5 separate regions of the Homo sapiens genome follow, and regions 2, 3, 4 and 5 are each linked to region 1. Evidence: promoter capture Hi-C in 16 types of primary human blood cells and fetal thymus (Javierre and others, 2016). All regions are on one chromosome and are shown on one strand. Each heading gives the region's core, a stretch centred on a gene start or on the middle of the fragment in contact. The rest is flanking DNA. Distances are from core to core; before and after follow the strand shown.

Region 1 (6,116 bases), core at 1,044-3,543:
AAAATCACCAGACAGCCCGGGGAAAACTAGAGCCATGGTGAAAGAGCCATCTGGCAGGTACTGTAGTCATGAAGGAATGAAGCTATTGCTGGACATCTGACACTCAAAGAAGGAAGGAGCAAGGAAGAGATGCCCCAATTTCCCTTTCTACCCACCTTCTGATATCCTTGCCTTGGCCTTCTTTATGTCCAACCACAAAGCAGTCCTTAAAGAAACTGAGGTCAACCCTCAGAGGCATAGAGCTTAGCAAAGAAGGGCAGGAAATGAATCTGGGGGGCAAAGAAAATAACCAGCACATTAGTCTTTCTCCGGACTACTTTGAAAGGCCAGTCATCTAAAATGCAAACCTTCTCATACCTTGCACCCTCTTAAAATCTACCAGTGGATTCACATCATCTGTAGGACTAAATCTAAACTGGGATGTGCGACTTTGCCCCTGCTTATGGCTTCATTCCCCAGTTCCTGTCTTAGCCTACGGCCATTGTGAATTATTTCCAAATTCACCAGCATTCTATGCTCTCACACCTCTGTCCTTTGTCCATATTCTTTTCTCTTCCCAAGGCACCTTTCTGCATCTTCTCTGCTTGGCTAACTTCTTCTACTCAACCTTTGAGAATCAAAGACTTAGCTCTAGAATCACCTCCTTCCAAAAGTTTCCTGAAAAGTTTTTCCAGGTGTTTCTATGACTTCCTTATATAATTCCATCATTATACAGATGCTCCTTGAGTTATGTCCTGATAAACCCATTTTAAGTCAAAAATATATGTTGAAAATGCATTTTACTCTAATAAGCCCATTGTAATGAGAAAAAAATCATAAGTTAAACCATCAGTCAGGAACCATCCATTCTTAGTTGAGCGAGTGTCCTTTCTCCCTTGAGAAGAAGGATGTGCATTTTTGTGCATTTTTATGTTTTTTGTTTTTTTTGTTTCTTTTTCTTTTTTTTTTTTTTGAGGCAGGGTCTTGCTCTGTCTCCCAGGCTGGAATGCAATTGTGTAATCTCAGCTCACTATAACCTCCGCCTCCTGGGCGCAAGCCATCCTCCTGCCTCAGCCTCGTGACTAGCTAGGACTACAGGCGCATGCCACACACCCTGCTAATTTTTCTATTTTTTGTAGAGACGGGGTTTCACCATGTTGCCCAGGCTGGTCTCTAAGTCCTGAGCTCAGGTGATCTGCCTGCCTCGGCCTCCCAAAGTGCTGGGATTACAGGTGTGAGCCACTGCGCCTGGTCCATTTTAGCTGTTACCACAACACCCATCACCATTGCTGGCACATGGTAGGCAATCAATAATAATTTTTTTTCAAATTAATACATGAAAACTATTAGGAAAGAAGTAAAAAAATAACATAGCTATAAAGCTCTTTGAATGTTAGGTTATTGGGAAAAGCTGTGGAAAGCCAAGGATTTTCTTTCTCAAATTTATTTTTAGAATATTTTTTTCTACACAAAAGACCACAGATAAGGCAGAGAAAGATAAGAAAAAGACCACAAGCCCAAGGACTTGGAATTTGAATCATAAAGGTTCATTCTAGACTTGGGCAATATCTAGAACTTCTAGAACAATCAGTTTTCTAGAACATAGAAAAGATATTACCTTGGTGTTAGCTTTAACTCCTGCCAAATAATGCTTTAAATTATTTAAACTTTAAAAAGGTGTGTCAATGTATACATTGCAGGTAAATTCATGTTCCAGTAACTTTTGTTTTCTTTGTATGTTAAAAATCTAACTGTGGAAAACATTCTAGCTTGGTTTGAGAGTCCAATAATACAAAATGCTTTATTTCCTAAAATTGTTTGAGAGAAAACCAAAATGCTACCACACTGCAACAAAATACTAAAGAATTATTTGCTATGTCAGTTGACATATTTTTATTTAGATTTTGCCTAAGATGCCACATGAAGCCTATATAAGACATTCTTTCCCTAAAACTTACATATGTATGTACATATATATATATAATGTTTTACATCCTAAACAGTCTACTTCACGTCTTCACCAAATGTGCAGCAGCGTGATTCACAGGTTCACCACTGGAAAATAGACCTTAAAATTCCGCCAATATTGGGTCAAAGATCTTACACTATAACACATACTACACTGTGGGCACGGATCAACAGACGAGAATACTTTATACAGAAGCTTCTCGACGGAAGAAGGCCTTGGAGTGGGAAATCTAAAGGAGGGGACACACTACATGTCCCAGCACACCTTGCGACGCCCAGCGACCACAATTCCCAGAACGCACTGCTCGTCGCACGCAGGTTTTCCTTGTTGCCGGGGTTTGTAGTTCTTCTCGATCGTGTCAGTTTGTAAGGCGAGGGCGGAAGTTGGATTCCTGGCCTGAGAATATTAGGCGTAGTTTTCCAGTTTTTGGCAAAGCGGAAATACTTAAGGCCCCTGGGTTGACTGGGTTCTTTGTTTTATCTACCGGCTTCTGCTTTACGACAGGTAAGTCACGGAGGGGCTACAATTCCTCGCAGCAGGGCCCCACCTTTTATTTCTGGGAGCGACCTCGTTCTGGTGAGGCTATTTGTCCCTAAGCTCTCGCCGTAGCAGCCGCCGCCCATCCCTCTTTGTGTGCTTTGGAAAGCCGCGGAGCTGGTGGTGGCTACAGTTGGTGTTGGGGGCTTAGGCGAGGGACGTTACCGGGAAGTTGCAGGCGGGAGGACTCTTCCCCATCCAGTCACCTGACAGGTGGGTTGACTGTTCTTCCCTCAAGGCCTCCCTGCCTGTGTTCCACGTCGCAACTCGAAGGGCGGCTTGGCAGTTCCTGCTGACATCCCCGCCCGGCCCAGCTTTGGGGAGGAAAGGCGGGGAGACCTGGGTGCGGTGACTCATTGCGGCCCGGCGAGAGGAGTCCACTCCTTTCCCTTCTCGACCCTCCAGAGGCGGCCTGGGGAGCCTTGAGGCTTGTCCGGCGCCCACTGGCTTCTTCCGGACGCCCTGCCGTGGACCGCGCCCTCTTGGCCGTGACCCCAGGGGAGAAAGTGATTCGTTTTCGCCTTGCCCCATTTTACAAATTAAGGCCATCTCTACTTGCCTTGATAGTGTCTCCCCTCACCTTATGTGTGATGGAAAGCCCCCGAACACGGAGGTTCTAGCACAAAACTCTAGAGACTCTCTTCTCTTGAGTTTTAAGAACGTGAACATGTCGGTCATGGAGGAAGGCTCTGGCTTCTGTGAGGATGAGAGGATTGGTCAGCTGTAGTTCAGCTGGTCAAGACTTTGTTGTTGGGCTTTAAAAATGCGCTTATTTTAATATCAATTAGTGTTGGTATATCTGTTTTACAGTTGACGTTGAACAAAATATAATGTGCCTAGCGTAGCATACAGTTACGTATGGAAGTTCTCTTCACCAGCCGTTTGTATGGAGCTGTTTAGAGGTGTAGAAAGAGTGGAATAAGAAACACGGTCTCTTGCTTTTAGTTTGTTCAAACAAATCTTGGAAGATATTGTGTATATATTTCAGGTCTGCTATGTCAACTTTTCATCCTTTTCGTATGCTTGAAAATTATCAATTCGCTTGCCAGTCTTAATGGAGTTTAGTAGCTGAAATTTCCTTTATCCACTTCTTAGTAGGTGAATTTCTCCTCTTGACTGACTTACCTTTGTTCAGATTTAACAATTGTGCTTTTTAAGAGATTTCCCCTAACCTCTGGAAATACAGTTTTCCAGAGGTTATTCTCCTAGTTTTCTTGATCTAAAGCATTTAATACTTCACTTGTACAGAGACATTGAAAGAGATTGATCATTAGGCAATAAGTCAATCATGTGGAGAAGGTAAGGAGTTCCTGGCTCCTGCCTTATGCTCAGCTGCTAGGCTACTTAAAAAAAAAAAATCCTAATTCATTATTTCTTCCTAAAACTCAAGCTGAAGTAGTGTTTATGCAATTGGTTTTTGAAGCTCAGATTGTAATTGTGTCTACCGTATCCATTATTCATTAGCCAGTGTCAATTGTAATGTTAAGGTCATTCTGCTGGATGTTGTGAAGGCAACAAAAATAACTAAAAAACAGTCCCTGATTTCAAGTACATTACAATCTAATAGGGAACATTTCAGGTATGTCCACAAATAATTGTACTAAAAGTGCCATCAGAGGTATACGTAAGGTGTTATTGTGGAGAAATACAGTCATATGATTTGATAGCTAATGATGGTAACTCCTGCGTTTTGCTTTAGTATTACTACAGCACTTTTAGAACTTACAGGAAAGTTCAGTTTGACCTATTGTTTTTTATCAAGTTTCTATGAATGCAATAGAATTGGTAATAGTTTTGATCTGTGTCATATAGCTTAAGAGCTTCTAAATGCCAAACCATGTCCTCTGTTTTAAGAGCCAGTTTTGACCTTTATCTTGGGTACCTAATATATTGTCATCAAAAACTTTGAGACATTGTGTTCAGTTTGTGTATGCGAACATTAAAGTGCTTACTATGGGCTAGCTACTATGCTCAGCTCTAGGTAATATTTATTATATATATTTGTTTATACATTTTTTAAGTCTTAGTAATAATATATATGCTTCCTTTATTTTATCTTTTAAAAGTTTATTTTTTAGAGACGCTCTGTTGCCCAAGCTGGAGTGCAGTGGCATGATCACGGCTCACTGCAGCCTTGACTTCCTGGGCTCCAGCAATCCTTCCAAGTAGTTGGGACTACAGGCACATGCCACCATGCCGCCTAATTTTTTATTTTTCTTGCCTTTTTTTTTTTTTTTTTTTTTTTTGTAGAGATGGGGTCTTGCTTTGTTGCCCAGGCTGGTCTCAAACTCATGGCCTGAAGCAGTTCTCCCACTTTAGCCTCCCAAAGTAAGCTACTGCCCAGCCCCATTATTTTAAAAGTAAGGTTTTTGTGCTTTTTTGAGATAGCATTGAACTATATGGCCTTTCGGGACAGTTCTCTTCTTGGAACACTAGTTTTTTCAACTGTGCTGCTTTTACTAACATAATGATTATATGTTTCTAAGGTCACAAACATGTCAGACAAAAGTGAATTAAAGGCTGAGTTGGAACGTAAGAAGCAGCGACTGGCCCAAATCAGAGAGGAAAAGAAGAGAAAAGAAGAAGAAAGGAAAAAAAAAGAAGTATGTTTGATTTTTTTGCTTAAATAAACAACATAAAGTAATTGGGTTTTATTTCACATATTTATATATTTACATATAGGTTGGTGCAAAAGTAATCGTGGTTAAAAGTAATGGCAAAAATTATGATTGCTTTTGCACAAACCTAATAATTTCAGGATAGTTAAAAATCTAGCAGTTCTGACTGCAGACATAACACTGTAAGTGAATCTTACTTTAAAGAAGCAAGATATGTGAAAATGACAAAACTGATAAAATATGATTTTTAAAAACAATTTCGTATAGATTGATGCATTTCTAAAATTTGATTTATTAAAGTTCAATTTACAATTTAGTCTCCTAGGAATATATTTATTATAAAGTAAGGCGCATCTGTATTTTTTTTTGTTTTGGGTTTTTTTTTTTTTTTTTGAGACTGGGTCTCACTGTGTCACTCGGACTGGAGTGCAGTGGTTTGAGCACAACTCACTGCAGCCTCAACCTCCCCTGACTCAGGTGATCCTTCCACTTCAGCCTCTGGAGTAGCTGGGCCTACAGGCACATGTCACTATGCTAGGCTAATTTTTGTATTTTTTTGTAGAGACGAGGTTTTGCCATGTTACCCAGGCTGGTCTCGAACTCCTGAACTCAAACAGTCCTCCTGCCTAGGCTTCCCGAAGTGTTGGGATTACAGGCACGAGCCACCACACTCAGTCAAGATGTCTATATTATAATAACTCATAAATATGGTGTATATATATCATAACTTAGTTTGGACTTTGAATTTATCTGAATATTTTGCTAGTCTGAATTGCTAATTTGTCAGAATGGATAATATTAATGGCAAATAAAATATATGTAATAGATGATTTAATTGACTAAGGGATTTGTTCTTATCTCTTATGAGTTAGTCATTGAAATATTTTTACTGAGTAGTAGGTTTGATGGTACCATAAAGGTGGACCAGGTACTTCTTTTGATTTTTTGTATCAAAAATATGCATCACATTATATACAGCAAATGTACATTGGCCCTGAGCTGGAGACATTTTA
Region 2 (6,116 bases), core at 2,019-4,518, 760 kb after region 1:
CCCGCCTCAGCCTCCCAAACTGCTGAGATTACAGGCATGAGCCACTGTGCCCGGCTGGTATTTATACTTTGTAAATTGCCTTTGTTGTTCTTAGTATCCTATTTCTAAATCTGTTGTCTTTTTCTTTTCTTTTTTTTTTTTTAACAAAAAAAAAAAAAGGCCGGGCGCGGTGGCTCACGCCTGTAATCCCAGCACTTTGGGAGACCGAGGCGGGCAGATCACGAGGTCAGGAGATCGAGACCATCCTGGCTAACACGGTGAAACCCCGTCTCTACAAAAAATACAAAAAATTAGCCGGGCATGGTGGTGGGCGCCTGTAGTCCCAGCTACTCGGGAAGCTGAGGCAGGAGAATGGCCTGAACCCGGGAGGCGGAGCTTGCAGTGAGCTGAGATTGCGCCACTGCTCTCCAGTCTGGGCGACAGAGTGAGACTCCGTCTTTTTTAAAAAAAAAAAAAAGAAAAAAAAAAGCCTGAAAGACCTCTTTTGGTTTTGCTTTTTGCTTTGTCTTTGTCTTCCCGGCCTCTAAAAATCTGGGTAGCTGGTCTGAGGTGTTGGGACCCAGGACTTGCTCTCTTATTGCTCCACCACTGGAGCCTCAACCTCAAACTCAAGGTGGTGGCACCTACATTCCAGGCAGCTGAAGAAAGGAGCAAAGAACAGAGCCAAAGGCACATGCATGCCATCTTCTAAGGAAAATTATTGGAAGCAGCAGTGTGATGCTTTGTCACACGTCCTATTCAGCAGAACTGAGTTGTGTGGCACATCCAGCTAAAGAGGGAGGTTCAGTTGAGTAGTAGTTATTCAGGGTGGCCTTATGCCCAGCTAAAAAGTCTTTTACTATGGGAAAGAGGAGAACTGATGTTGGGTGACAGCCAGCACTCTCTGGCAGAGCTACTAAGCCTGTTGTTTCATTTATCTCATTTAGAAAATAAACTGTGACCATATTAATTTCCTTTTCAAAGCATTGAAAAATTTGTATTTCCTAAACTATTGGAGTAGTAAAATGGGTATGGTGACCCACCAGGTGTGAGCTCATTAAGTCTATCTTTTCTCTTCTTGTTTTTTATTTAAAATATTTTATTGAAAAATGATGGAATTTAAAGTCGCTTTTTCCTTTGCAGATGAACTATTTGATAACAGGTTTTAAGACATGAATCTTATTTTTTGAGTTAACACTGATAATATTTATGCTTGGTACACTTGAAATAGAAAAACCTGCTTGGTCACAACATGCTAGAATTTAAAATTATTAAAAGTGATGAATTAATGATAAAACTTTATTCCCATAACAGAAATTTACTAAGCATCTACTATGTGCCGAGCACTGTGCAAAGGTCAGGGATGGAAATGGTGAGCTCACAATCCAAGTGTGTACAGTTTCCTAGACTTGGTTTCTTGAAAGGAAAACTCACTAGAGATTGGACTCCAAATCACAAATGTCATTTGGCAACTGATAAGTCGGGTATCTGGTAATTCAGAAGCACAGGAAATGATTAAATGCCACATTTGACAAGATCTGGCAGCTGCCTTGTGAAACTGAAAGAACAGGATTGCCTGGAGACAATTATCAGAACTTGGACTTTCATTTTTCCTTGCTGCAGTAGACAGTGTTTTATTGTGGCTCTTTAAGAGATGTCTTAGTGGTATGAATTGCTTGGTCAGCTGAAAACTTTTCACCTAATTTAATTTTATTTTTAATTTTTTTGAGACAGAGTCTCACTCTGTTGCCCAGGCTGGAGTGCAGTGGCGCAATCTTGGCTTAGTGCAACCTCCACCACCCAGGTCCAAGCGATTCTTGTGCCTTGGCCTCTGAAGTAGCTGGGATTACAGGTGTGCACCACCGTGCCCGGCTAATTTTTGTATTTTTAGTAGAGATGGGGTTTCGCCATGTGGGCCAGGTTGGTCTCAAACTCCTGACCTCAAGTGATCTCCCTGCCTGAGCCTCCCAAAGTGCTGGGATTATAGGTGTGAGGCACCACGCCTAGCCAAATTTTATTTTTATTTTTATTTATTTATTTTTTATTTTGTGAGATGGAGTCTCACTCTGTCGTCCAGACTGGAGTGCAGTGGTGTGATCTCCGCCTCCCAGGTTCAAGCTATTCTCATGCCTCAGCCTCCCAAGTAGCTGGGATTGCAGGCGTCCACCACTATGCCCAGCTAATTTTTGTATTTTTAGTAGAGACGAGGTTTTACCATGTTGACTAGGCTGGCCTCGAACTCCTGATCTCAAGTGATTCGCCCATCTCAGCCTACCAAAGTGCTACGATTACAGGTGTGAGTCACCACACCCAGCCCCAATTTTATTTTAAAATGAGCTAGTTATATATTTATTTCTGTACTTACAAATTTCTGTTGAAGTGGAATTCTTGATCATTTTAAATGCAGGCCAGTTGCTTTTGTGATTTTTATGTTGTTGCTAATGTTATTCTTTTTTCCTTGAGGTTATTGAAATTCTTATGTTGGGAGGTAAGAAGCAAGTGTTGGTGGACCAAGGTCACACCAAAAATAGATCCTAGGGATAGAACCAGAATTCCAGAATTCTTTTCCTGTCTCCTCCTCCATTTTCCTGATCTGACCGCTCTTATTAGCATATTCCCTTTAAATAGTTGAAATTGAGGGTTGTGATTTCACATTTTTTCCCCCGGTACGTGGTAAAGACTTTGAGCTGAAGGAGTTGAAAGTTGTGGATGTTAAAAACACGTTCTGCTTTGGATGTTCCTTTACTGCATGAGCTCCCTTGCTCTTAATGAGACACACCCATAGTAAAGTCCAGACACTCAGTCTGGACTTAACTGAGTCAGGTTAAGAACTAGAACCCTCAGGCGCAAATGTCACATGAGCATCATATTCACTAGAAAATGGGTTTAGTTCTAGCATGCTCTTTCAAGGAGGCAGGAAAGAAGGCATCTTGTGAAATTTTGGGAAGGCCAGGATAAAATTGCTGGTCTTGTGCTCCAGTTAAAGGTAACAGGTATTCTTTGCCTTTAATTTTGCCTTTAGCACAGATCTCAAAGTACTTAATAGACGTTAATTATAACTGACCATGCTCTTGTAATAGATTTTTTTTAATGAGTAAACTGGGGTGTAGTGATGTCATCAAATCAAGCAGAAAGGAGACTCTTGGAGTAGTGGTTTAGAGCAAGATCTGGGAGCCCAGGAGTGCTAGGCACAACTCCTGGTTTGTCACTTACCAGCTGTGTGACCTTGGACAAGTTACTTGTCTTCTCAATTTGTGTCCACATTTGTAAAATGGGTAATGGCAATAGTGTCTCTTATATTATTGTCTCTTATAGTGTCTCATGTTATTAGGCAGAGTACCTAATATGAGAGCATAGGAGATGATAGCTGTTGGGGCATTATTAATAATAGCTTGTTTGCCTCCTTTGAAAGTAGGCTATGTTTGTGATTTCTTAGAAGGTTATTAGAAATCTAGTCTTTTGAATGTGGAGTTGTAGTTTATAGTCAAAAGAGAGCCTCAGCCTTTTAACCAACTTTCTGTGTAAACATGAAAATTCCGGGCTGGATTTGTTCCACTGTGAATTTTAGCTCACACTTGCCCAACTGGATTATCCAGTAAGTATAATTTAAAAATAGGGTTTGGTTTTTCTTCTCCAAACACCCTTAAGGTTACAAAAAAAAGCAGGATCTGCTTCCTGCCCTCAAGGAGTTTATAGCCTAGTAAAGTGAAATTGGGAGAAGTACTTGCCCTTGGAGATGATGAAACTTGAGTTAGGGGTCTTGAAGGCAAAATCGTAGGTAAGGCCTGGAGCTGGAGCTTGGTAATTGACAGTGTTTATGGGGTTGGGGGCAAGGTGGCAGGAAAATGTGAGCACAGGCGTCAAAGTCCTTGTGTGCCTGGGAAGTGAAAGGAGGAGGGGCAGCTCCTGGTGGATGGCCAGGGTGTGGCTAGATGGAGGAGGAGGGCTCCCAATTGTGGTGGGAAGAATGCTGCACAGTGGGAAGGGCACTGGGCTGGAAGCCCTACCCATGTCAGGGAATGTCTGGGCCTCAGATTTTTATTTTCTAGAATGAAGATACTTACCCCCCAATTGCTGAGATATTTGAATAAAAGTATATGTGAAGGATTTTGTAATTATAGAATGTCCTACAAATATGAGTAGTTCGTTTGCTACTTTTTTGGCGAAGAAAAATATTGGGATGCATGAATAATATCTACCTAAGGTACCTAAGGTTGTATTCATCCCATTTATTGAATGCCAAGGATATACCAGCTACTGCTCCAGATGTTGTATTCAGGGAACAGAAGAAGAGTCCCTGTGCCCATGGAGCTAACAGCATTCTAGGGGAGGAAAGATGGGACAGCTGACTTTCACGATCTCAGGTACTGATGAAGATTGTGAAGATTATTACATCAGGTGAATGTAGGGGTGATTTAGAGAAAGCTGGTAGCTAGGCTGTTCAAGGAAGGGCCTCTGTGAGAAAGGGGATGGTTGGCTGGGTGTGGTGGTTCACGCCTATAATCCCAGCACTTTGGGAGGTTGGGAGTTTGAGACCAGCCTGACCAGCATGGAGAAACCCCGTCTCTACTAAAAATACAAAATTAGCCCGGCATGGTGGCACATGCCTGTAATCCAGGCTACCTGGGAGGCTGAGGCGGGAGAATTGCTTGAACCCGGGAGGCAGAGGTTGTAGTGAGCCGAAATCATGCCACTGCACTCCAGCCTGGGCAATGAGAGTGAAACTTCCTCTCCAAAAAAAAAAAAAAAAAAAAAGAGAGAGAAGAGGATGGTGGAGTTAGCCCTGAGGAATGTGAAGGATGCAACCAGCGAAGATCTGAGTCAAGAGTGTTCGGAACCAAAGGAAGCGACTGCGGTTACTCTGAGATGGAAATGAGGCTGCTATGTTCAAAGGACAGAAACGGAGTCAGTGTGGCAGGAGTGCACACCTTAGAGGGTGCAGCTGGAGAGGCAGAGAAAGGGCCACTCACCATGGGCCTTGTAGAATGTGGCAGGAATTCAAATTTCATTCCATTGCCCATCGGAACCCACTGGAGGGCTGTAAGCAGAGGAATGATGTGATATGACCTGAGATGTGCAAAGAACAGCAGTTGCAAAGAACAGATGTGGAGGACGGGCTCGGGTGGAACAAGAGTAGAAGCAAACCAGTTAGAATGATACTATAGTTGTTCAGGTATGATGTGATGGTGACTCAGGCCTTTGTTTTAGGAGTTTGCAGGAGCTCAGAGCAGACAGTGAAAGTGGCCACCTTGAAGCAAAACACAAATGAAAGGGTTGATCACAAACTGGATTAAAGTTGGCAGTGAGAATACTGGAAAGGAACTACTGAGAAGTGGTCAGAGTAAAATGTGGAGGTAGAGCCTGTAGACTTTACTGATGCATTGGACGTGGGATATAAGGGCAAGTGAAGAATCAATGATGACTTCTAGGTTTCTGGCCTGAGCACCTGGGTAGATGGTGTACATTTAGTAAGATAGAGAAGGGGGCCGGGCATGGTGCCTCAAGCCTGTAATCCCAGCACTTTGGGAGGCTGAGGCAGGTGGATCACTTGAAGCCAGGAGTTTGAGACCAGCCTGGCCAACATGGCGGAACCCCATTTCTACTAAATATATATATATTTTGTATGTATGTGTATATATATATAAAATATATATATAATTTATGTATTTATATAATATACAAATATATTTATATATTTATATACAAATATATATTTATATTATATATAAATTATATAAATTTAAATAAATATAAATATATTTATCTTGTATATATAAATATATTTTGTGTGTGTGTATATATATACACACACAAAAATTAGCTGGACGTGGGGGCACATTCCTGTAATTCCAGCTTCTTGGGAGGCTGAGGCATGAGAATCACTTCAACCTGGGAGGCGGAGGGTGCCGTAAGCCAAGATTGCACCACTGCACTCCAGCCTGGGTGACAGAGTGAGACTCTGTCTCAAAAGAAAAAAATTTTTAAATAAAAATAGGGAAGGAGGCCGGGCACGGTGGTGTAATCCCAGCACTTTGGGAGGCCAAGGCCGGTAGATCAGTTGAGGTCAGGAGTTCAAGACAAGACTGGCCAACATGGTGAAACCCTGTCTCTACTAAAAATACAAAAATTAGCCTGGT
Region 3 (6,116 bases), core at 1,191-3,690, 750 kb before region 1:
TACCAATTATAATAACATTTATATCCACTGCTGTCTTTTGATTTCATGAGTCCCTATAATTCAGATAGATTGAGCTTTCCATTTTTTTCATTATTTTTCAATATCCATCTAAAAATATTTAGGGGACAGCCTTTAAATGGATTCAGAAGTTCTGCTATGAGCAGTGTAGTTCCTTTTTATGTGTTCTGTATGTATGAGTGCATATTTTCAGATTGTGATCATATTGTGTACCCAACTTCTTATCCCCACTCCAGAGTAACCACTGTGGACAGTTTTTTACATAGCCTTTCAGATATATTTTATGCTTATAAAAAAGTCTCTTTGGCCGCGCACAGTGGCTCACACCTGTAATCCCCACTTTGGGAGGCCGAGGTGGGCGGATCACCTGAGGTCAGGAGTTCGAGACCAGCCTGACCAACATGGTGAAACCCCATCTCTATTAAAAATATAAAAAATTAGCCGGGCATGGTAGTGCACACCTGTAATCCCAGCTACTTGGGAGGCTGAGGCAGGAGAATCACTTGAACCTGGGAGGCGGAGGTTGCAGTGAGCTGAGATTGTGCCATTGCACTCTAGCCTAGGCAAAAAGAGTGAGACTTCTTTTCAAAAAAAAAAGAGTCTCTTCTTCTTCCACCCTTCTCTCTTTCTTTTTGTTACCTTGTAATCATGATCCATGCTGTTGCACACCTCAGTCTTCTCAGTTGTTGACCTATCTTGGCAGTCTTTCTGTAGTAGCAAGTGGCCATCTGCTTCATGCTTTCAGTTAGCTCACGGTAGTCTTTTGTACCATAGATTGGTTAAGGAGTACCTCCTGGTGTTGAACATTTGGTTATCTAGTCTTCTGTTATTATAAGTACATATTTACAACCTTAAATCCTACTTTTTGTTTTCCCATAACATACATCCTTTTCCCAGATTACTGTATTGAATTTTAATGGTAGCTGTCTGTAGAAATGTTGATCTTTATTTTAGTAAATAACTACATTGTTTTCTGATCATCAACATGTGTCCATTAGAGAACATTTGGATGTGGTAAAAAAGTACAGCAAAGAACCTGAATTACCTGTAATCCCACCATCTAAAGGCAAATACTGTTGAAGTATTTCTCTTAGTCTCCTTTTTTTCCTGGGCCTAACATCGCCCCTTAGCCATGTTTCACAAAGATTTTGAATAATATGACGTATTCAAGGACTATATGGCCAAAAGTTATCTTAAGAGGTTAACATTACAACCAAAATAGCCAACAGCTGAGAAATTGTTAAACAAATCAGGGCCTAAACACAGATAGAATGCTACACATTCACTCAAAATTGTGTTTCAGACACCCTGTGTGTGTGCAGGTACATTTGAGTGCTTAGGAAAATAAAGCTGAAAGGTAATAAACAAGGTTGTCTAAAAAATTATTAGTGGATGGTGACTTTTTTTTTAACTTTAATATATTTTCTAGGATTTCTGAAGTGATCATTAAATACTTGTATAGTCACCCAAAGTGTAGATATGCAAAATTACTTTTAAAAAAGAAGTGGACTCCTAGTGGAGGATTTAAAAATTTGTGTAGAAGTCTTTTTTTAAAAAATAGCATTTCAGATTTCCTTATATAGTGGGTCAGATTTGTGCTCACTATGAATGGCACTTTTATTTTGGTCCTCCAATCCTAATGTAAGGCAGGAAAAATGTTAGGGCTTCTCAGTTTTTGAAGTTATTGTAAGTTACCCCCTACATGTGAACTATGTTTAATATCAAATTTTTGCCTATATTTTCCATTAATTATCCAGTGAACCCAACAAGACCATTTTCAAAATTAAATTAAACCAAAATATCCAACAGGTGAGAAATTGTTAAACAAATCAGGGCCTAACCACAGATAGAATGCTATACATTCGCTCAAAATTGTGTTTCAAACACCCTGTGTATGTGCAGGTACATTTGAGTGCTCAGGAAAATAAAGCTGAAAGGTAATAAACAAGGTTCTCTAAAAAATTATTAGTGACATAGTTCACAAAATTAAATTTTTGGAGTGACCTCACAGATGCCTATTATAGGATCTGCTTTTAAATTAAAATATTCATATTCTGTTCCACACTTAAAAGAGATGGGGAATAGCTGAGGGCATACTTTCTGGAGCAAGTATTCAGTGTGGAGACTGTGTGGAGTGTGGAGACATGGAAAATGGCATTTTCATTCTTTCTCATGCTTGCTTCTGGGAGAGATTTTGAGGTGATGGATATTTTGAAGGAAGGGTCATTGACATGAAATGTGTCACGAGTGTAATAACAGGTTTTTATCTTCTGAGCTATTTGCTGCAGACTGGGTAACATTTAGGTGTTCTCAGAGAAGCAAGTGACTGCAAGTGGAATTACTTCTATAGAAAATGCAATGCCTACACCATATCTTCTATCATATGGAACTGCTCTTTTTATATATTTTTTTCTATTTTGTCAGAGATGAGGTCTCCCAAAGGTACTGCTCTTTTTAAATGGTGCCTAACTAACCTATCTGCAATCCTGTTGTGATGGGATTTCAATTTAGTACTTATTTTGAAAAAATTAATTTCTGATATTCAATAGTCATTGTCTTCTTTATTCTTCTAACAGTCTTTCTCAAACTTTTGAAACTCATACCCTGTTTTTTTTTTTGTTGTTGTTGTTGTTGTTTTGTTTTGTTTTTTTTGAGATGGAGTTTCGCTTTTGTTGCCCAGGCTGGAGTACAATGGCGCATCTCGGCTCACTGCAACCTCCCGGGTTCTCCTGCCTCAGCCTCCCAAGTAGCTGGGATTACAGGCACCTGTCATCACGCCCAGCTAATTTTTGTATTTTTAGTAGAGGTGGGGTTTCACCATGTTGGCCAGGCTGTTCTCGAACTCCTGACCTCAAGTGATCCACCCGCCTCCACCTCCGACAAGTGCTGGGATTACAGGTGTTAGCCACCACGCCCTACCTCATCCCCTAACACAGAAATCTCACTCTGGCTCCCTTCTCACTCATTCTGGAAACAATGGGTAAAAAGAAAACAGTAGGGTTATTTGGTATTGTTTTCTATATATAAAGTTATAATTGTGAAACCTGAAGAGTCTGACCCTGCCCCCAGAATTGATCTCTCCTTTTTTTTCTTTTTTGTTTGTTTGTTTGTTTGTGAGATGGAGTCTCGCTCTGTTGCCACGGCTGGAGTGCAGTTGTGCAATCTCAGCTCACTGCAACCTCCGCCTCCGAAGTCCAAGCAATTCTCCTGCCTCAGCCTCCAGAGTGGCTGGGATTACAGGTTCCTGCCACCGTGCCCAGCTAATTTTTGTATTTTTAGTAGAGATGGGCTTTCACCCTATTGGTCAAGCTGGTCTCGAACTGCTGACCTCAGCTGATCCACAGGCCTCGGCCTCCCAAAGTGCTGGTATTACAGGCGTGAGCCACTGTGCCAGGCCCAAAATTGATCTTTTCTAATAAAAGGCCCAGAAGTTGTTTAATAAACATTCTTTTAAATTGCTTTCAAATGTAGGAATCAGGATGTCTCAGTTTATTGAAGCCATGGAATACAATGTATATAAATCTTGGGATACTTTTAGGAATTATATCATTGAACATAAACTTTTTCTAATATTAATAGGCCTTGAACAAATTAGTAGTTTCATGTTGATTATATACACTTTTTTTTTCTTTGAGATGGAGTCTTGCTCTATCACCCAGGCTGGAGTGCAGTGGCGCGATCTCAGCTCACTGCAACTTCCGCCACTCCAGTTCAAGTGATTCTCCTGCCTCAGCCTCCCAAGTGGCTGGGATTATAGGCACCCACCACCACACCCAACTAATTTTTGTATTTTTAGTAGAGACAGGGTTTCACCTTATTGGCCAGGTTGGTCTAGAACTTCAGACCTCAAGTCATCTGCCCACCTCAGCCTCCCAAAGTGTAGGGATTTCAGGTGGGAGCCACTGCACCCAGCACCCCCAACGCCCCACCTCTTTTTTTTTTTTTTTTTTCTTTTTTTGACACAGGGTCTCACTCTAGGCTGGAATGAGTAGCACAGTCTCCACTCACTGCAGCCTCCAACTCCCAGGCTCAAGTGATCCTCCCCCCTCTCAGCCTCCCCAGTAGCTGGGACTACAGGCACACACCACCATGCCCAGCTAATTTTTTGTATTTTCGGTAGAGATGGGTTTTTGCCATGTTGCCCAGGCTGCCCTCGAACTCCTGAGTTCAAGCAATCCACCCACCTCAGCCTCACAAAGTGCTGGGGTTACAGGCGTGAGCCACTGCGCCCGGCCTGTATATGCTTTCGTACTTATGTGATGAGGTGTGTTTTAATGCCTGCGCTATCATCCTCAGGATTCTCACTGGGGGAGATCTGCTGTTAGTGGTTAATTATGGTTTCAGTAAGTAGTAGAGTGTACAACACTGATTCTTCTGCCTTCTGGGTCAGATACTAACAGGGCTTTTTAATAATTCCTCTGCAAATTTTATAAAAATTGAGCTTAGAATAACCGTTAACATCAGTGTGTTCATTTTGCTTACTTTAATATTCTATTGAAAGGATTATATATATTGATTGATTCACTATAAAATACTAATGTAAACTAGGAAATAGAAAGTTTGATATGTGCTTTTGAAACTGACTTTTTTTTTTTTTTTTTTTTGAAGCAGGGTCGCACTCTGTCACTATGGCTGGAGTGTTGTGGTGTGGTCATGGCCCACTGCAGCCTTGAACTCCTGGGCTCAATTAATCCTTTTATCTCAGCCTCCTGAGTAGCTTACAGGCATATGCTGCCACGTCTAGCCAATTTTAAAATTTTTTTGTAGAGAGATCTTTCTATGTTGCCCAGGCTGGTCTTGAACTCCTGGGCTCAAGCGATCCTCTCGTCTTGGCTTCCCAAAGTGTTGGGATTACACTTATGAGCCACCACACCTAGTCCTAAGTAGTTACTTTGAGAGACTGTACATTTCCCTGTTGGCATTGCAAATAAATTTACTGTAGCATGAAGATAATTATTCTGGGGTTTTGTTCTCTCTTTTAAGCATCAATGAGAGAAGGCTCAAGCACATTGTCAGAAATAAGGAAGCTTAAGCCGGGCATAATGGTGTGCACCTGTAATCCCAGCTACTCCAATCAGGAGACTGAGGTGAGGTGGGGGCCCAAGAGTTTAAGACCACGCTGGGCAACATAATGAGATCCGGTCTCAATAAAAGCAAAATTGTCACTTGACCAAGGACTTTGAGGCTGCAGCGAGCTATCCTCACACCACTGCACTCCAGCCTGGGTAACAGCAGCGTCTCTAAAATTAATTAATTAATTCGTTAATTTTTTTAAAAAAAATTTAAGGCTAGGTGCGGTGGCTCACGCCTGTAATCCCAGCACTTTGGGAGGCTGAGGCGGGTGGATCACCGAGGTCAGGAGTTCAAGACCAGTCTGGCCAACATGGTGAAACCCCCTCTCTACAAAAAATACAAGAATTAGACCGGCATGATGGCGCGTGCCTGTAATCCCAGCTACTCAGGAGGCTGAGGCAGGAGAATCGCTTGAACCCTGGAGGTGGAGGTTGCAGTGAGCCGAGATGGTGCCACTGTACTCCAGCCTGGGCGACAGAGTGAGACTCCATCACAAAAAAAAAAAAATTTTTAGAGACCCGGTTTTGCTCTGTTGCCCAGGCTGGAGTGCAGTGTCACAGTCCCAGCTCACCGCAGCCTCGACTTCATGGGCTCCAGCAGTTCTCCCTCCCTAGCCTTCCAAGTAGTTGGGACTACAGGTGCGTACCACCACAGCTGGCTGATTTTTTGAAGGGACAAGGTCTCGCCACATTGCCCAGGCTGGTCTCAAACTCCCGGGCTCAAGTGATCCTCCTGCTTTAGCCTCCCAACGTGCTGGGACTATAGCTGTGAGCCACATCCCTGCCCTAATTAATTAAATAAAAGTAAAATCCAGGCTTTGTGGCATGTGCCTGTAGTCCCAGGTACTCAGGAGGCTGAGGTGGAAGGATTGCTTGAGCCCAGGAGTTCAAGAGTAGCCGTGGCAAAATATTGAGAGCTTGAGAAAGAAAAAGAAAGAGAGAGGGAAGGAGGGAGGGAAGGGAAAGAGGGAAACAAAGGAGGAAGCACCTGGTACAGTGACTGTCACCTGTAATCCTAACACTTTG
Region 4 (6,116 bases), core at 1,655-4,154, 740 kb after region 1:
ACCAGAGCCCCACTGAAACCGGTGGCTTCCTTGAAATACTTGTTCAAGCAAAAAGTGTGAAGGGAAAGTACTGGGACAAGAAATATCCTGGCAGTGGAGATTTGCGAAACGTGACTTTGCCAGGAATCTGTGTCGTGAAGGTTAGCAGCATGCTTGCTAAAACTTGTTACTGCTGCTGGGCTTCTCTGGTATTAGAGCTGAGGCAACTCCTCCCGAGGTAAGGATAAGCCTGCAATGGGGTCTGATGCCTTCTAGGAAAGCTCTTCTTAGCAGCTGACAGAGGGGAGAGGCCCCGTATAAGGAGACTGTATGTTTCCTAGAGTCCAAAGGCAGTGACCACACTTTAAAGAGGCTGTGGTTTATGTCACGTGCTGCCCACCTCCATGCTTTTGTAAAGCTTTATTCCAGCTTCAGGAATAGCATTGGTCTTCCCAGGAGAACCAGCACACACAGGCCATAGCACAGGTCAGTTGTCAACCTTTGACAGTAAAGAATGTGGGTGTAAATGGCAGAGCCAGTAAGACTGAGAAAACTTCTGGACCAGCTTCCTAAACTCTATGGAAAAACTCAGTGGGGGTCTTTCAGGGACCTGGTGGGAGAGAGACCTAAGCTGAGATTCCTTCTCGGCCTTTTATTAGCAGCTGTTAATTTACTTTGAGCTTTAATTTCTTTATCTGTAAAATGGAGATATTACTGCTTACTGGGGTTATTATGAGGATTAAGAGATAATATGCAAAGTGCTTAATGCCTGTCTGGCATGGGTACTTGCTGACTAAATGGTAGCTGTTAATGATCATTTAAAAAGCAGTAATTGTGTACCTACTGTGTGTCAGGTACCTTACAAGGTGTCTTAAACATTCTGTGATTCTAAGATTGCCTGAGAGTAAAGCCAAAGGTGGTTGTTTTTGGGTAATGATATTTTAAACTCAGTCATATTTATGAAACCCATGTTCAAAGCAACTTAACTTTAATAGGTCTTAATTAGACTTATAACAAAAGTGAGTTTAATGAACAGAGGACTTTGAGGAAGGAGAAGTAAAATATCAGATGCATGGGACGGTCAGATAAAAGCACGATCATAGAAGACCTATCATAAATGTTTGTAGTTCAAATTTTCTATAGTGCCTTTAACTATTCAGTCACATTTTAAACTCCAGTTATGACTTTTGCAGAATAATATTGTGTCAGAGAGCCCCAAAACATGTCGGGTGTTCCTAAAGCTTTGGAGACTATAAAATTGAAGTAGATACCATAAACTTCATCCAGGTTTTCAGGCTGTATATTAAAGAAGTTTCGGACTCCAAAAGATTACTCAATGGTCAGCCAAGTTGGTCCGCCGAGTGACTGAGGTCAGGGTCTGAGCACCTTGGACTCTTTAATTTCTCTTAGGTAGTTAAGATTGAGTCATTCCCAGAGGTGGAAGGTATGTGATGATGACTGTGGGTATATCCAGCCTATGAATCATCACTCTTAGCTCTTCTGGGAAGAGATGGATCTATATATGATCACAGGGAAGAACCTAGAAGAAGGAGATCTATAAGAGATAGTCTCATGAAGTCATTTTGGATTTCTGCCAACCCTCATTTTCTTCTTTATGGGGTCTCTCTCTCTGACCACCACTGTCTTCCAGAAATGCTCCAGGCCCGCGGTCTGTTCTGTTCTGACCCTTACTAGGTTTGTTCTTGACTTTTCTCAGACTTGTCATGTTCCATCTCTTAAAATCATATTTTCTGAACTAGAGATCATCTAGTCCAACTGCCTCTTTTTACAGATGAAGAAACTGAAGCTGAAAGTTCAGCTTGAGCAGAATCTTAACAGAATGTGGATTTGAATCTCTGACCCATGCTCATGCCATTTTTAAATGGAAAAGCCAGAAATGTTCTTCAGACCTAGAGAAATCGGCAAGCATCTGAATTTTGGAAGTGTACTATATTGTGTTGATTTATCAAACTGCTTCCCATATGCATAGGTCAGGGCTATCTATTTAAATATTGGTGCCTGGACTCTTACTATTGACTCTATTCCAGCTGGCCTTGGAACAAGTTCTGGGTCCGTCCTTCTTTGCCTGCCTCCACCCCATTCCCTTCTGAAAAAGCCCAGTGAAGTGTGGCTGTAGCTAGCCAAGAATCAGAGCTGTATTCAGGATGTGTACCTAAGCACTTGCTTCCTTGCATTTATTCACTCGGAGTGCCATGTGGCCCAGGGCCATCTTCCAGGGATTGCTGGGTCACCTTGAATGCTAAGAGTAGAGAAAAAGCCAAAACGGGCAGCGAGACTTACAGGAAGTCTTAGGACTCTGCAAGAAAGCAGAAATAGGCAAGTTTAATTTTAACACAGGCTGGTGTGAGACCAAGTAATGACAGGGTTGGGGAAAAAAAGGGTCAAAGTATTTATATGGTATAAATAATTTGTTGGGGAAGTCAGGATAAATGCTTATATAAAAGGATTCCTTTATTATAAAGAAGTGGTTATTCTGTGTTCTCAGTTATATAGACTCTCTTAGCATAACAATATATTGAGATTTAATTTAAGCTTTCATAACCAAATAGTACCAGAATTATGGCGCATGGTTTCCTGAAGACCTCGGCTCAACATATTACTGTGGACAGTGAGGCCAGTGAATTATTTGGTATTTTCAAGAGGGACAGTGAGACAAAACAGAAAATACTGTTGTAAGCTTAGATGACAGGGTCAATTGTGCCTGAAACACTGATTTAGTGCTGAATCAGCCCATTTTAAGAATATAATCATAGCTTAAGAACCAGTTTAAAATTTCCCCATCCTACACTAAAGCAATGTCTTTAACTCCTTTGGATGTCTGTAGCACATTGTGTCTGACAATTCTGATGTTTTGTGCTAAACTGTGATCCACTATCTTTAGGACATGATCTAATCTCTCCCAACTGGATTGTAGGTTATGTGAGGGCAGGGGTCTTACATTCATTTCTTTGCCTGCTAGCACCTAGCATATGCCTTGCAAATACAATAGAGACTGATATTATACACTCAGTTTAACCTGTGACATCAACTCTTCCTGCTGAGGGTGGAGAGAGGGAGAAATCCCTTTCTTTAACCCTTTGCCCTTCCTTGCTCAGGCCTTGGTGTCTTCTGCCTCTGAGGAAACGGAATCTGTAAGCTTAGCAAAGAAACGCACAAGACGTTAATTCTTGGTTTTTGATTTTTCAAAGGCGGGGGGTTCCAGCTAAGGGATTTTCATGAGTGTTTGTAAATTTCACCTGGCTTTTGCCCTAAAGGCAGACTTTAGAACCTAACCCCAGAAATACAGGCTGACCTACACTGCAGTGGGTACTCGGGACTTGCTGAGGTGGTTGGTTGTTATGAGGCTGGACAGAGAAGGATGACTGTGGAATAGAGATCTTTCTGAAAGCAACTTGACAGGGGTGTGGGGGTCAAATGGAAGTGTGCAGTACACGTGTGAAGTCACTTGTGAATTGATAGCGGCAGGTTTATTTCTTCAAGGATAGTAAGGGAATCTTGGATATATTTAACTCTTTCGGTAGGATGGTGGGAAGGCTGCTTACCTGCTCCGGGGGTGAGCCTAGGAGCCATAGCATGGGATCTGGGGATCTGTGTAGCACCCCCGCTGGCTCCTGGGAGGATGGTAAAGATTACGTACTGCAGCAGTGGGAAGTGGACGTAGTCTCAGCCCCCGGTGCCCATCTTCCCTTTCTGGGCTTGGGTACAACTCTGGAATCAAATAACTTTATATCTGGAAGGAAGCTTAGGGGTTCTGAAACCTGGCTGGTCTTCAGGGTAACTACTTGGGCAACCTTTTATAAAAGTGTGATTCTCAGCCCAGCCTAGATCTGTTACGTCAGTTTCCATAAGTGTGCTCCAAGAAGCTGTTCTTAAAGTCTTCTTCGTTTGAGTCAGACTAGCTTTTCTCCTTTACACAGAAGGCAGAGTGTAATGTAGTGACTAAGAGCAGAGCCTAGAGCCAGGTAGGATCAAACCCTTTTCTGCCATTGACTAGCTATGATTTTGTGCAGGATTCCTAACCTTCCTAGGCCTTCCTGCCTTCAGCTGTGAAGCTAGTATCCTCGCACATTAGAATAGTCCTGGTCCAGAGTGAGCATTTTGTGTTTGTTAAATAGATGAGGAAACCAAGGCTGTAAGAGGTGCAGTGGTGGCGGCATGTCTAGCAAACTTGGTCTTCAATCTGCATCTTCCCTGCTTCCCGGCCTGTGCTGTGTATGTGCTTTCTCCTTTTAGGTTTGGTTTTCATCACGTTTAAAGGTTTGGTTTTCATCACATTCTCCCTTTCTTCCATTCCACTCTCCAGTTGAAAAGTGCATCTCAGAAGAGCCATGCCTTCTACTTAGCAGCCCTTCGTAGCTACTAAGCCATAGATAAATCCCAGTGAGGTCTCAGTGTTCAGAGATGAGTGGACAGATGGGTGCATAGACATGACGGGGCAGTGACTGTGAGCTGGATACCCATGGAGGGTGGGTGGTGCAGTTATAGGTTGGGCTTACTGCTAAGGAATACCACCTGTCTGGTTTCCAGGCCTTCTTAGACCTCTATGACCTTGAAAGCACCCCCACACCTCCATCCCTAGGAGGCTGGATAACTTGCACAACACCCAGGGCAGGTTTGAAAACGATTTATTTTTCTTAGTTTTTTGCTTGGCACTAATGTTTGCTAGGAAGGAGCTTGTGGATTATTGATGACAAAACTGCCTAAGGTTGGAAAGTATGTGGGCAAATATGGAAGTAGTGTTTCCTTCACAGGTTTGTTAAACTGGCATTTAGATTTGCAAACACTGATCTCTTGGAATTAAGTTAAAAGGCTAATTGTTAATTAGCCCTGAACTGGGGCAGGTAGATGGGCCTCTCACCAGTGCAGGTCCCTGTCAACTAATAACAGGGTTTGATAACCACCATCAAATCTGCTATCTGGCTTTTCTGCTTAGATAAACAAGGCAAGACGATCTCAAACCAGCATACCGATTCCGAGGTTGGCATGTTTGTAGAAGACTGTTCTCAGGCCGCAGTGTGGCAGCAGACCCTCCCCAGTTCAGCCCCATGCCAGATTCCAACGTTGGATCCCACTGTCGCTTCATCTCATCCTAAATTGGCAGAAAGACTGTTTAGAAAACTAAGTCTCTAAAACCAATTAAATGGTAAAGAAGACTGTTCTGAATTAGGGGGAATGGGATGAAGTACCACTAAACGCAAGTCACAAAGGGCAAAAACTCATGACATGGAGCCGTGGGTATCTGCTTGCATGTTTATTTGCCAAGCGGCTAGTATATTTTGCATGTCATACAATCTGAAACTTACTTTTTTGAAAAGCCATTTCAGATATAGTATAAGAAAAGCCTTTGAGAGAAACATGCTTTCTAAGCCTGGGAGTACAGAAATAAAAATAAACTTTGCAATAATTTGAAAGGGGCACACTGGTTAGTTGAAGAGTAAGGAAGCACCCAGTAATGCCTCTTTACCCAAGAGCTCTGTTTGCTTTGCTCGGTGATATCAATGTCACTGTGGTTTCTTCATTTTGAAAAGGAAGTTCATTTGTACTGAGGTGGTTTTAAGTGTGTGTGTGTGTGTGTGTGTGTGTGTGTGTATGATGCAAATGATAATAAACATTTCAGACCCAGAGGGCAGAATGTCACTGAACCTAAGCCCTCCTGAGCCAAATAACTCCTTTGTCCTTGCAGAATCAGGAGCCCTTCTCTTCAGGATATGCTGCCATTATGATAAAGCATTGTGATGTAAAGTTAACGAGAGGATCCTTATCCAAGTGAATCACAGCCAAGGGGTGGAATGGTTGGCCTCTGGTAGGGATGCCCCATTCAGCAGCACTGAGAGTTTGGAGTTGTTCTGTTCTCTTTCCTTCTTGCTGAGGGTAGTAAGAAATCCTCCCTAGGCCCCATTCCCCTGATATATCTTGCGGGTGATGGCCTCTTACTGGCAGTGTGATTATGTATGTCCCTTTAGAACAAAGGTATCGAAACAATAAAAGTTGTGAAATGGAAATGTTTACAATTCTACAAGGCTCCAGAGAGATTAGAGATAGGTAGGAAAAAGGCCATTGTTTTCCAATCAAAGGTGCTGAGAACCTGTTGATTGGACCTAAGGAATCCAGCTTTG
Region 5 (6,116 bases), core at 3,617-6,116, 730 kb before region 1:
GGAAGTCTCTAGAATCAGTGGAGTCTTTTATATGTTAAATATTTAATTTTTATAAGCAGAAAGAAATAATTAAGATGTAAAAGATTGCTTTTTAAAGATGTCAGACTTCTGTTGGTTGTTGACAAATGGATTACTAGAAAGATTCATTCTCTCATCTCATTCTCTCAAACTCGTCAGTTTTCTTGGTGCTAAGTTTCACAATATATGAATAATGTTATTAGAACCAGACAGAGAGATGTGCTCCAAAGTACCAAATTAAAACCACTTTTTATACCTTGTTTAGAGTTTACCCATAATAAAGTTCTAAGATAAAGAAATTATATAATCTCAGCAAATTCTTAGGACAGTAGCCACTTGGTTGGTTTAATTTTTCGTAACAGTCTTAAGTTTTCGTTCATTACTTACAACATCTCTGACATATAAATAAAGGCCAACATCTGGCCTTTATTTGTTTATGAAATGAAATATTTAATATGCTGTTTCTACTTTCTTTTCTATCCAGCTCTTAATAAAGCATGTATTTAGAAATAGAGTCCAAAATTAAACGTTAACCCCAGTAAATGTTTTAGATTTTTATAATCAAAGTCATCACAACTTCGTTAGTAATGTGACTTCTTATGGCATATTTTGTTTTTACACATTGAAGCCCTAGATCATTCTAAATAATGTTGGGTTGCAAATTCCATAATCCATAATGAGCTATTAGAAAAAAGTCAGTTTCAAGTTGTTGCTAACGTAAGAGTTCTTAATTTCTTGACATTCTTTTACATAGAAGAAAATTTAAATGTTGGTGAAACCTTTGTTGAATGTTTTATTTATGTTGATTATTAATATTACTCTTATAGGGCCATAGGATGCTTAAGCTAACATTAAATTTTTATTTACTAAGGAATGTGATTTCTATGTGTTCACAGAATAAAGACAATGACACTCTTAAGGATCTGCTGAAAGCAAACGTTGAAAAGCCTGTAAAGATGCTTATCTATAGCAGCAAAACATTGGAACTGCGAGAGACCTCAGTCACACCAAGTAACCTGTGGGGCGGCCAGGGCTTATTGGGAGTGAGCATTCGTTTCTGCAGCTTTGATGGGGCAAATGAAAATGTTTGGCATGTGCTGGTACGTATCAACTGTGAACTGTTACTGGAGGTTCATGAAGCAGTGTGGAAAGATGTTTTAACAATGGTTGTTTCTGGCTTAATAAGATTGTAAGGATATTATTAATAGGCAATTTTTGCCAAAAATCAGCGTTCATTGCTTTTTAAGTATGGATCAATTTTTTTTTAAGTTGAGGAAGAGAAGCAAATGTACAAGTTTAAGAACTTTTTCTAATGATTTATTCATTATAAGATGTGTTAGAGTAGATAGCTACAAAAATATTTTAAATATTTGTTAAATATTATGTAATTTTTATGCTCAGAAGTTTAAAATATATTCTGTAGTTTCTGACATCTGACACATCTCTAGCAAGACAGAAGTATACAGATTTAAAAAATCAACATAATTAAAAATTGGACTATAAACCTTGGAAGATTATTTTATATATATTAATTTTAGGGTGTGTGTTTATGTCATTCTAGGAGGTGGAATCAAATTCTCCTGCAGCACTGGCAGGTCTTAGACCACACAGTGATTATATAATTGGAGCAGATACAGTCATGAATGAGGTAATTCGTGTGTTTATTCATAGTGAGAACTATATAAAATTTTCTCATTGAGGTTTGAGTTGAGAAAGATATTTGCATGCTTTGCATTTAGAGTTAAAATTTCAGTCTTTGCTGATCAAAAATAACTTAAGCCTCAGGGTGTTAAATGGAACATCTGGTAGGTGTCTTATTAGGTATAGCTGTGAGGAAAAACACATACTGTGCGGCAATTGCACAGATTTTATGTGTAATATACAGAAATCTTTGCATACCTGAAGTCTAAATCAAATTCTCATTTTCAATTGTTCATTGATTTCATTTTCTCTTCCCCTTTTTGTTCAGTGACAGCATTAGCTCAGCTATATTACATCCTTTTCCTTGTCTCTTAGCTAGCGGAAGTATACATTGCTAAATCAAAAATGAGAGAAAAGGCTGGGCACAGTGGCTCATGCCCATAATCTCAGCACTTTGGGAGGCCGAGATGGGAGAATTACTTGAGCTCAGGAGTTCGAGACCAGTCTGGGCAGCATAGTGAGACCTTGTCTCTACAACAAATACAAAAATTAGCCAGGCATGGTGGTGCATGCCTATAGTCCCAGCTACCTGGGAGGCTGAGGTGGAAGGATCACTTGAGCCTGAGAGGTTGAGGCTGCAGTGAGGCAAAATCATGCCACTGCACTCTAGCCCAGGCAACAGTTAGAGAGACCCTGTCTCAAAAAAAGAAGAAAAAAAAAAGAGTGAGAAATGAGGTGCCCAGACAACCAGGTCTTAATAATGGGAAGTAAAAGCAGAATATGTAGAACTCGGGTGTAAAAGAATTGTACTAAGAGTGCCAACTAGATCTTAAGGAACTGGCCATAAAGCCTTGTATGTAGTAAGTAGGCTTTGCTTGAATTAATATATTGAATTAAACCTGCTTGTGATTTTTATGTCTGGGGCAGGGCCCAGAATCTGTATTTTTTTCTTAGATTTCTCAGGTGATTCTGATAGCCAGGTTTGAGACACACTGTTCCAAAGTATGGTAACGTGAAACATTTTCTCCTGTGACACTTTTGCAGTCTGAAGATCTATTCAGCCTTATCGAAACACATGAAGCAAAACCATTGAAACTGTATGTGTACAACACAGACACTGATAACTGTCGAGAAGTGATTATTACACCAAATTCTGCATGGGGTGGAGAAGGCAGGTAAGGTCATTTTTTAGACTAAGTTATGACTGCTTAAACATACCAGTCAGATATGTTGCAGACATTGATTGTTTTTATTTTGAAAGAAATTACTGGTTTATTTTAAGACTCCTCTTAAAAAAAAGGGAAGAGCTAGTCTAGAATATTGAAACCAATTTTTTTAAAGTACATATCTAGGGAACATAGTATATATACTATAGTCCTTTTCTTTACTAACCTAAGAGCTAACAGCATTTCTTTTTAATTGAGAAATTATTGCGCATAAGCCATAATTATAGAAAAGCCTAGAATTTGGAAACATTCCACATGTTTTCAAAAGTTCTAATCCCATGCTGGGAAAAGGATAACTTAGTTGCTGCAGGCAGGAAAAGCTTCCGTTTGCTCACAGTATCTTTACCCACACTACCTGAGATTCTCCAGCTGAATGTTTCGCCACAAGTATTCTAACTTGTTGCAGTTTGAGAAAAGTAAGATAGATGTGTCATCCAAGAGTCTGGCCTATATGGGGCAATACTTGATCAAATTATCATTGTCCATTGCCCAGGTTTGTAAATGCCCAGAAATAGGATCTATTCGAGGCATTCAAAATTTATTCATTACAAGAGGCACTTCCTCATATAAACTACATTTGCAGAGAAGCTGCTATATTTGAATGACAAATTTTCAGTTTGCAATAGAAAAATACCCCCTCTCTAGTTAGAAGAATACTCAGGTCAGATTAGTACCACAAGAGTGCCTGCTGAGCATGGAATCAAACTGGAGGAAGAGATTCTGTGGACAGTGAAGACCAACAGCAAAGAACATCACATATTCTTTCATTTTTAATTATGTTAACTAAATTTGGCTACATTCTTTGGAAGACATTTTTTCTTTTGATGTGTTTAATACTGTCAGTTGGCCATTGCATTAGCTAGGCCCATACAGAACATTTTCGTCAGTCTGCCTCTGACCATGCATTTGGTCTTTTTGTGCTTCTGTTTTTATTCCTTCCTCAGAGGCTGACCACATTTCATTTATTAAATCTTATTTCTCTTAATTTCATTCTTAGGCTGTCTTTAAGTTTGCCCAGGGTCTTGCTGTTGCCTCAAGTGCATTGTCTATTACCACTTAATTACTTTGACCAATAAGCACCTTGTTTTCAAATGTAGCTACCTCTGAAAGGCCATAATTGATCACTATAAATTATTTAATCTTTATTTCTCTAAATCCCAGTCCAGTGAGAATTGCAGGGTTTTGTTTGTTTGTTTGGAGACAGCGTCTTGCTCTCTGGGCTGGAGCACAATCATAGTTCACTGCAGCCTTTAACTCCTGGGCTCAAGCTGTCCTCCCGCCTCAGCTTCCTGAGTACCTGGGACTACAGGTGTACACACTGTACTTGGCTAATTTAGAAACTCTTTTTTAGAGATGGGGCCTTGCTTTGTTTCCCAGGCTAGTCTTGAACTCTTCGCTTCAAGCAATCTTCCCACCTTGGCCTCCCAAAGTCCTGAGATTATAGGTGTGATCTTCCATGCCTGGCCGAATTGCAGTTTTGATTGTGAGGGAAGAAGGGAAGAAGGAACAAATAATTGTGAGATGAAGCATCATTGTGCATATCAGACTGGTAAAGGAGGAGCTAGGCCTGGCATGGTGGCTCACGCCTGTAGTACTACCGCTTTGGGAGGCTGAGGCGGGTGGATCACTTGAACTCAGGAGTTCAGTACCAGCCTGGGCAACCTGAAGAACCGTTGTCTCTACAAAAAATACAAAAATTAGCCAGATGTGGTGGCATGCACCTATAGTCCCAGCTACTCAGGAGGCTCAGGCGGGAGGATTGCTTGAGCCCAGGAGGCAGAGGTCGCAGTGAGCCAAGATCATGCCACTGTGCTACAGCCTGGGCAACAGAATAATAAATTGTCTTAATAAATAAATAAATAAATAAATAAATAAAATTAAAAAGGCTGAAGTTGGCTACTGCCTGCTCACCCAGCTTTTGGTGGCAGTGGAGATAATAGATGATGTGGCAGGAGAAGGGCACAGAGGTATTCATGCATGGCCTACTCTGAAATTGTCAAGTTGTTTGGGAAATAAAAGACATCATGATGGAAACATAAGTTGGAACCTGATTATGGAGAGCCTTAAATACCACGGTCAGGACTTCCGATATATTTTGAGCAGTTGAGGCTGTGATAATTGTATCAGTAAGGGGTTTTGGGTTCAAATGGTAAAAACTAGCTGTCACCATCATAAGCAGATAACATACTTAATGATATGGATTAGCTCATATAATCAAGGAAACAGCTGAAGAACCAGATGTAGAAAGGACAGGACTCAGAAAACCTAGGGATTTAGATAGGAAGAAGTATTTGGCAATGTCATCAGCATTCATTCTACTAAACCCATTTTTGTTTTTTCTCTGACTCCCAAGGTTTGCAGCCATGGGCAAGAGAAATTGGCCTGGCTTTGACCATGAGCCATTCCCTTGGTTTGGGCAGGGCAGACACTCTGATTGACAATCCTACCAGCACTGCACACAACAGCAGAGAAGTAATTCCCCAAAGGGAGGAAAGAGAAAGGAATGTTGAGAAGACATCAGACTAGAAAGAAGCAATGTGATCACATCTTACTAGAAAAATGCCTCTGGTGGCAGTGGGAGGATGAAATAGAAGAGATCTGGGTTGAACATACATGACTGATTTGTGTCAGGTTCTGAAAGAGAACTATGGAATGTGTAAATGATGTCATCATACAGACGTGCTTAGAGCTCTTCAGTGGAAAGGCTGTATCGATGTCATTTGTTTAGCGAGTAATCATCAAATGTCTGCCATGTGCCGGCAGCTATGAAGGCAGTAAACAGACAAGGTCTCTGCCCTTCAGGACCTTAACATTTTGTTGGGGGAGATAGATAGTAAATAAATATGCAGTGTGTTGGATGGTGATGAATTCTTGAAAAATAAAGGAGTAAGGGTGATATCCACAGTGGAGGGCAGGGTGTTGTTTTCTGTGGGGTGGTCTGGGAGACCTCTGCTTAGATGACATTATCTAAAAGAATAGAAATTTGTTTGTTTTTATCTTTTAAAATCTCAAAGAAGGGAGTGCATGTTCAGGGCAACTTGAATCTATGCTCTTGGGTTACCCGCCCCCCCCAAAAAAAACACCTCAAAGAAATACAAGCTGTGATAGATAACAACGTTAAGAAAAAAATGTTTTTATAGCCTAGGATGTGGCATTGGATATGGTTATTTGCATCGAATACCTACACGCCCATTTGAGGAAGGAAAGAAAATTTCTCTTCCAGGACAAATG

What was found. The method cuts DNA at HindIII sites, captures the fragments that hold promoters and counts their contacts. A CHiCAGO score of 5 or more calls a contact.
Region 2: a contact is called between a fragment that was not itself captured here and the fragment with the promoter of DYNC1I2 in region 1, in 2 of 17 cell types (fetal thymus and activated CD4 T cells). The highest score is 6.0, in fetal thymus.
Region 3: a contact is called between a fragment that was not itself captured here and the fragment with the promoter of DYNC1I2 in region 1, in 4 of 17 cell types (fetal thymus, total B cells, naive B cells and 1 more). The highest score is 7.2, in fetal thymus.
Region 4: a contact is called between a fragment that was not itself captured here and the fragment with the promoter of DYNC1I2 in region 1, in 5 of 17 cell types (fetal thymus, total CD8 T cells, naive CD8 T cells and 2 more). The highest score is 6.5, in fetal thymus.
Region 5: a fragment that was not itself captured here is called in contact with the fragment with the promoter of DYNC1I2 in region 1 in 1 of 17 cell types (total B cells); the score reaches 5.1 in total B cells.

The regions. Positions count from the first base shown.
Region 1 is chr2:171,685,176-171,691,291 of GRCh38, forward strand. DYNC1I2 (dynein cytoplasmic 1 intermediate chain 2) reads left to right here and starts at 2,294. Exons shown (of 18, transcript NM_001378.3): 1 at 2,294-2,452; 2 at 4,972-5,088. The coding sequence starts at 4,981. RefSeq lists an enhancer at 2,295-2,464. The HindIII fragment of the contact is 4,493 bases long and covers 2,142-6,116 here.
Region 2 is chr2:172,445,210-172,451,325 of GRCh38, forward strand. All of the region lies in intron 1 of ITGA6 (integrin subunit alpha 6), which reads left to right. Among named protein-coding and RNA genes, the nearest start is that of ITGA6-AS1, 18 kb to the right of the region's middle. The HindIII fragment of the contact is 8,425 bases long and covers 1-6,116 here.
Region 3 is chr2:170,931,623-170,937,738 of GRCh38, forward strand. The region is part of intron 1 of GORASP2 (golgi reassembly stacking protein 2); the gene reads left to right. Among named protein-coding and RNA genes, the nearest start is that of GORASP2, 5.4 kb to the left of the region's middle. The HindIII fragment of the contact is 5,206 bases long and covers 1-5,043 here.
Region 4 is chr2:172,429,471-172,435,586 of GRCh38, forward strand. The region is part of intron 1 of ITGA6 (integrin subunit alpha 6); the gene reads left to right. Among named protein-coding and RNA genes, the nearest start is that of ITGA6, 4.9 kb to the left of the region's middle. RefSeq lists enhancers at 853-2,052, 5,312-5,812. The HindIII fragment of the contact is 459 bases long and covers 2,676-3,134 here.
Region 5 is chr2:170,948,625-170,954,740 of GRCh38, forward strand. GORASP2 (golgi reassembly stacking protein 2) reads left to right here. Exons shown (of 10, transcript NM_015530.5): 3 at 915-1,118; 4 at 1,580-1,666; 5 at 2,704-2,834; 6 at 6,026-6,116. Among named protein-coding and RNA genes, the nearest start is that of GORASP2, 22 kb to the left of the region's middle. The HindIII fragment of the contact is 3,326 bases long and covers 3,204-6,116 here.